Regions from separate parts of the Homo sapiens genome. Here region 1 is linked to region 2. Evidence: promoter capture Hi-C in 16 types of primary human blood cells and fetal thymus (Javierre and others, 2016). All regions are on one chromosome and are shown on one strand. Each heading gives the region's core, a stretch centred on a gene start or on the middle of the fragment in contact. The rest is flanking DNA. Distances are from core to core; before and after follow the strand shown. Region 1 overlaps DAPP1 (dual adaptor of phosphotyrosine and 3-phosphoinositides 1). Region 2 holds the start of CISD2 (CDGSH iron sulfur domain 2).

Region 1 (3,200 bases), core at 392-2,891, 3.0 Mb before region 2:
GATATGCACTTGACTTGCTGGCTTCCAGCCCTTGAGTTAGAGTCCACCAGCTTTATTCCTCTTATCTGTCCCAGCCAGATGAAGGGAAAGCCATCAGGGCTAGGAACAACAGGCAAAACCCATGACAGATGAGTGTTCAAATCTTGCCCCTCTGGGAGTAATAGGCCTTGGGAAACAAGATAATGTGCTCAAGTCATGATGACTTGTAAGCCCAGAAATTCCTCAAGGTTACGGAGTCAGCATTGCAGACTATAAAGAATGGTGAATGGAAACTGACATGCCACCTTCTAAAAATAGGCCTTTTCTTCTTGTTCATTTAAGCATGGGCTCCTAGTATTGGCTCCCAGTGATCAGAAGATCTTCAGGCTAACGATTTCATGTTCACCTTCAGATGAAGTACAGATATTTCTTTCTTTTTTTTTTTTTTTTTGAGACGGAGTCTCGCTCTGTCGCCCAGGCTGGAGTGCAGTGGCGCGATCTCGGCCCACTGCAAGCTCCGCCTCCCGGGTTCACGCCAGAAGTACAGATATTTCTTATAGCTTATGTTTGATTAACATCACCAGGAAAAGCATTTGTCCACACAATGGACAAGCCCCTCCCAGGGCTCTCAACTTCAGATTACCAGAATGACAAGGACTAGAATTGGATATTTCAGGCCACTGCTCTCAGCCAGACCCCACCCAGGCCCAGCCTCACCCTGCAGGGTCTAGAGGGTAAGTTTATTAAAGAGTGACTTTCTTATAATACATTTATCTACTGGCACAAGTGGTATTACCTTTGAGGGCAACAGAAATGATATCCAAATAGCCAAAACTTTACACTTTTGCCTTGCAGTTATATATAATGCCTTCAGTAGAGTGAAACCCAGAATATTTGATTTTGGGTCGTAAGAACATTTTTGCACTCAAAATAGATAAAAGTGTTGACCTAAGGGGATTAATGCTATTTTAAGATATCTTTTTTTTCTATTCCCTACTCTTTACACTTTTAGGATTTCTGTTTGCTAATCTGAAAAGCAAGGATTTCCTAAGCAACATCTAAGCCTCTTGACAACTTTAAGAGTATTTTATGATAATTTCCCTTTCCCTTGCCATAATCTCTATTTCATCTCTCTAATCTCCATTAAAGTTTCTGTTCACTCTAATTTCTTTTTATCAATACCCATAAACACTCTTAAGATACTTCCAATTCTCAAAACCTAATAATTTCCCAAGTACATGATAGAGATATACAATGTACTCTCTTGCTTTATTTTTCTCAATGGCCCTTTTACCTTCTGACATCTATAATTCACTTATGTTTTTTAAAAAAATACCTTTTTTTCCACACTAGTGTGTGAACTCCATGAAGAAAGGGACTTTTGTCAGCTTTGCTTCCTGCTATGTCCCAGGACCTGAAAAAATAAGTACTGATCATTTCCACAATATGTCATGCTGGATGCCCCATTTCCAATGCCTGCATTGCAGTTTTTTGCATGGCAACATCAAAACTAGCAAACTTGTGACAATTTTAACTTTCAAAGTTTATAAAAACATAATTTGAAATGATATTTTGTGTTGCATGTATGCTCAGTGATGATTAAATTCAGAATTTGCCTTTCATTTGTGATAGTGTTGCAGGACTTTTCCTTAGTTCAGCTAAAGATCGGGTCCCTCTCCATCCCACGGCCACAAAAATTTAGGCTCGCAGACGGTTTGAAGGGTGAGTGAAGCAGGGTTTTATTGGATGAAAAGAAAGAAAAGAGGGAAACAGGGAAGCTAGAGCGCTTCCTGCCCAGCAGTTTGAATTCTATGTTCCTCACAGGAAGAGGAGGGGCCAGGCTCCTCCCCACTGCAAAGGACACGAACTTCCTAAGGCTTCACCTCAGTGGGCAGGCCGGTTGGAGTTTTTCTGTCTCAATAGTAGGATATCAAATAAAACATATTCATGTCTGTGCATGAACTCTAAACTAAACTCAAATAGACTTGAAAATTTGAGAAACTTTTTTATTAGTATAAATATGTTTGGTCCATTATTAATTTTGTCGTAGCCTCTTGTAATTAGCTAAGTTTCATATATATAGTCTTGAAAATGTAGACGGCATTTATCTTTATGCTTAAATGTCTAAATATGATTAGAACAAAAAATTACTTTTACCATTACCTTTTGTTTATGTTTCAATAATTCTTAACATGAAATTGCCATGTATAATTTATTACATTGTATTGTGACTGTAATCACCTAACAGGCATGAAAAAATATAATACAAGTCAAGTTCTATGTTTGTGCTTACCCTTTATAATAATTGGTTCCCAATTTTAAAGATCTCATCTGGTTTTTTGGTAAATGTCAAATCTCCATTTCTCTTTTTGTTTTGATATGGGGATTCCCAATCTTTTGACGACAGCTACCGCTATTATTATTTTGTTTTGTGACACCACCCAGGTGATATTTTTAAATAATGTGGTTAAAATTAATTTTAATTTGAGAATTGGGTGGTTCTTCAGAAAACAACTAGTGACAACTTAGAATTTTTCCAAACTTCCTTGGATGTTTGCCAAAAATACAAAATGTTCTCAGTTTATAGATGAGTTTTATTCGAAAAAGGAAAAAGCAGCTGAGGAAGGGAATTAAGCCAACATTTTTAGAGTGTTTGCTAGGTTCCAGGCATTCACCTACATCAACTTATTTCATCTCAGCCACCCACAATAATGCATACAACGGTCCTATTTTCAGATGAGGAAAGGAAAACTCAGAGGTTTTAAGTCACTTGCCCAAGTTTTCACTGCTGGTAAACATCAGGGCTGAGATTGGAATCTGGGCTAATCTGGTTCTAAAGCATAGATGCTTTCCATGCACCTTGCTATCTTTTGAAACTGGTCCCACAATAACAGTACATTGTTGCCATGGTACAGTGTGGCCTTAAATGGATTTGGAAGAACTCAGAGCTGAGATTGGAATCTGGGCTAACCTGGTCCTGAAGCATAGATGCTTTCCAGGCACCTTGCTATCTCTTGAAATTGGTCCTACAGCGACACTGCAATACATTGCTGCCATGGCACAGCATGGCCTTTAATAAATTTGGAAGAATTTCTGCTACAATAATGTAGTAGAATGATTGTAGGATATGGCAGGGCTGTAACACATGTCTTAGTCCTATCCCTCAGTCTCTTCTTTATCTCTTCTTTAAAGTCTACAATAACATGTTTGGTACATGAAGT
Region 2 (3,142 bases), core at 44-2,543:
TGAGGCAGAAGGATCCCTTAAGCCGGAGTTAGAGTCTGCGGTGAGCTATGATCTGACCACTGCACTACAGCCTGGGCGATAGAGCGAAACCTTGTAACAACAACAACAACAACAAAATTAAAACCTTCAAGATCAAGCTTGCCCAACAGGATGGCTTTGAATGCCACTCAATGCAAATCTGTAAACTTTCTTAAAACTTTATGAAAAAAAATTTTTTTTTAGCTCATTAGCTACCATTAGTGTTAGTGTATTTATGTGTGGCCCAAGACAATTCTTCTTCCAGTGTGGCCTAGGGAAGCCATAAGGACCCCCTGCGCTAGACTTCAGCAGAAGCCTTGTAACATAAAGAAAACCATACATAAGGCTTTAGATTCTTTTTTTTTTTTTTTTTTGTGACGGAGTCTTGCTCTGTCTCCCAGGCTAGAGTGCAGTGGCACATTCTCGGCTCACTGCAACCTCCGCCTCCCTGGTTCAAGCGATTCTCCTGCCTCAGTCTCCCGAGTAGCTGGGACAGGCACCTGCCACCGCGCCCGGCTAATTTTTCTATTTTTAGTAGAGACGGGGTTTCACCATCTTGACCTGGCTGGCCTCGAACTCCTGACCTCGTGATCCACCCGCCTCGGCCTCCCTAAGTGCTGGGATTACAGACGTGAGCCACCGCGCCCGGCCAGCTTTGGATTCTTTTACCACTTTCCCGAAGGAAAAGGAACTGAAAATATCTAAGGAAGGACTACTACGAATCTTCTCTGAGTGGCAAAAACCAGAGGTTTTTGGAGCTAGGGCTGCAGTTAAGTTGCCAAGGGGCAGAGATGTAAACAGTTCCTGGTTTAGTTAAAATATTTTAATTTTTATTTTTTTAAGCCTGGCCTTTGGGTGAAGGAGTAAAATTAGGCACTGGGGTCTGGGTAGGGGGAGGATACTCATGGGCGAGTATGCAACCCTAGGGCCACAGCACCCAAACTGTAGGGGAAGAGGCGGGGCGAGAGGGGACGAAGTAGAGACAGCAAGAGACTCACTTTTGAAAGGCACTTTCGGTTAGAAAGCATTCTCACATGCTTATCTCATCGCACACAGTATCCTTTCTGCTGGTCTCCAGCATCTACAGACGTTAAAGGCCCAAGAGGAGGGCCACCTTCACACGAGATTCCGAGGAGGGCCTCGCTACCCGCCAGTTCCCGCGCCTCGGCAGTCCGCCGCGAGCGTACGTCACTCGCCCGCCGCCAATCGGCGCCCGGCAGGTCACCTCTCCTCCCAGGGCCCGCCGCCCCGCCCGCCGCCCAGGCCGAGGCCGCCAGTGCCCGCCGGCCGCTTCCGCTCCCGGCGCAGGCGCGGCAGCTTGGCCAGAGCGGAGGGGGCTCGGGAGAGGAGTGGACGCCGCTGGCCAGGATGGTGCTGGAGAGCGTGGCCCGTATCGTGAAGGTGCAGCTCCCTGCATATCTGAAGCGGCTCCCAGTCCCTGAAAGCATTACCGGGTTCGCTAGGCTCACAGGTAATCCTCCCCCATCAGCCAGTCCCCATCCTTGCACGTTCGCCAAGCGGGGGAAGGAGGCGTAAAAATCCTAGGGCCAAGGGGCGGGACGGAGCTCGGCGCCTGGCACGTGATCCCCGCGCGCAGAGGAAGGTGGGCGCGCGCCGACGCAGCTGCCTGGGGAACGCCTGTGAGGCAGTCTCCGGGTGCTTGATGCCCCAGGGTCTTTTGTCCTCGGAGTTGTCTCCGGTGTCATTCCGTGGCAAGATACCAGGTTTTTGCAGAGAAGGTGCTGAGTTGGGAACAGGCCAGTCTCTTTCATCTCCTGTCCTGCTCATCGCTCTCTGTAGCGTACTTGTTTATTTTAAAGCGGGCTAAGTCGTCGTTATCTAAGGCCTCATGTAACAGGCAGCCCCAGCTACCGGCTGGGTTGTACCCTCAGCATGTGGGTGGGAGTGTGTGGGAGAGAAATATAGACTTACACGTAACACGTATATGACCGTTTTATTTAGTAACGAAATTAGGAGATAACCTCCATTCCCTCAGGTTAGAATTGACCTATCATAGGTGGCATTTGAGGTCATCTCCGTTTCTACGGTCCCGGGGCCCGCTGCGGTAACTTAAGTTGGAAGAAAGATACCTTACCCAAGAAAGTATTCGAAGGCCGGTATGAGGAGTGAAATCTTAGAAAATGAAATTTAGTGAATATATGTAACGTTCTATACTTAAGGACCCTCACTTAACCCACACAACTCATGAGGATTTCACATCTAAAGGATGAAAATCTCCAGAATGCAGTCAACACTTGGGAGATTGTGTTGAGTTATGAGCATTTCATTGTAAGGGGGATATTTCTAAACGGAACTCAGACCGAGTAGGATGGTGAAGGAATCAGCAAGTATTGAACTCCTATGTCCTAGGTTATCAGGGAGTGCAAACATGAATTAAGATAATTCTGAGGTAAATAGGGTTGCTTCGCCGGGAACGTTCTAAAGATCTGTAGTACCTGACCTAAAATACAGCAATCGCACAGCTGTCTGGTAGAAGAAAAATAAGATTTGTGTAGACTAAAATATAGAACTGATAACAAATTAACCAAATTAGTGAAGGTTATTGGGAGGTGAATTTCAGTCTAAGGAAGATTTTTTTTTAAATTAAAGAATGCTTTCCCCAAACAAATGTGGTGCTTCAGTGATAGCCCCTCTCAAAGATGAAAAAAACAAACAAAAAGACTCTGGTGGTGGGTGGTCGATAGATTTAGAAGGGATAAACTAGATGACAAATTCTCTTCCAAATCTAGAGATTCATTGAATTATGGTCAGACAGACGCTCTGTTGAGTGGATTGTGAGATTTTAATATTTTTTAAATATTAAGAGTTTTAGTAGAAAACATGCAATTGAATAGAAAGCATGGTAACAATAATAAACATTAAAAAGGAACATTAAACATCAGAAGCAATGCAAAAGTAAAATAAAATGAAAAACGTTTCACATCAAGTGTTTATAAACATCAGATCTTTTGATCCTACCAGTTTACTCTGACAGAATTGCAGCAATTCCATAAAATTTTGGCTTTCCCCACTTCTTTTACTTAAGTACTTTACATATTTTAATATAATCCTCATTTTTTCCCTAACAACTAAATACTTATTTTAGTTTTAACATCACAATGGG

What was found. The method cuts DNA at HindIII sites, captures the fragments that hold promoters and counts their contacts. A CHiCAGO score of 5 or more calls a contact.
Region 1: a contact is called between a fragment that was not itself captured here and the fragment with the promoter of CISD2 in region 2, in 1 of 17 cell types (neutrophils). The highest score is 7.6, in neutrophils.

What each region holds. Positions count from the first base shown.
Region 1 is chr4:99,842,440-99,845,639 of GRCh38, forward strand. All of the region lies in intron 3 of DAPP1 (dual adaptor of phosphotyrosine and 3-phosphoinositides 1), which reads left to right. Among named protein-coding and RNA genes, the nearest start is that of DAPP1, 27 kb to the left of the region's middle. The HindIII fragment of the contact is 3,832 bases long and covers 1-3,200 here.
Region 2 is chr4:102,867,699-102,870,840 of GRCh38, forward strand. It overlaps CISD2 (CDGSH iron sulfur domain 2), which reads left to right and starts at 1,294. Exons shown (of 3, transcript NM_001008388.5): 1 at 1,294-1,489. The coding sequence starts at 1,387. It also overlaps a transcript of UBE2D3 not described here. RefSeq lists an enhancer at 745-884 and silencers at 1,115-1,404, 1,435-1,554. The HindIII fragment of the contact is 11,662 bases long and covers 136-3,142 here.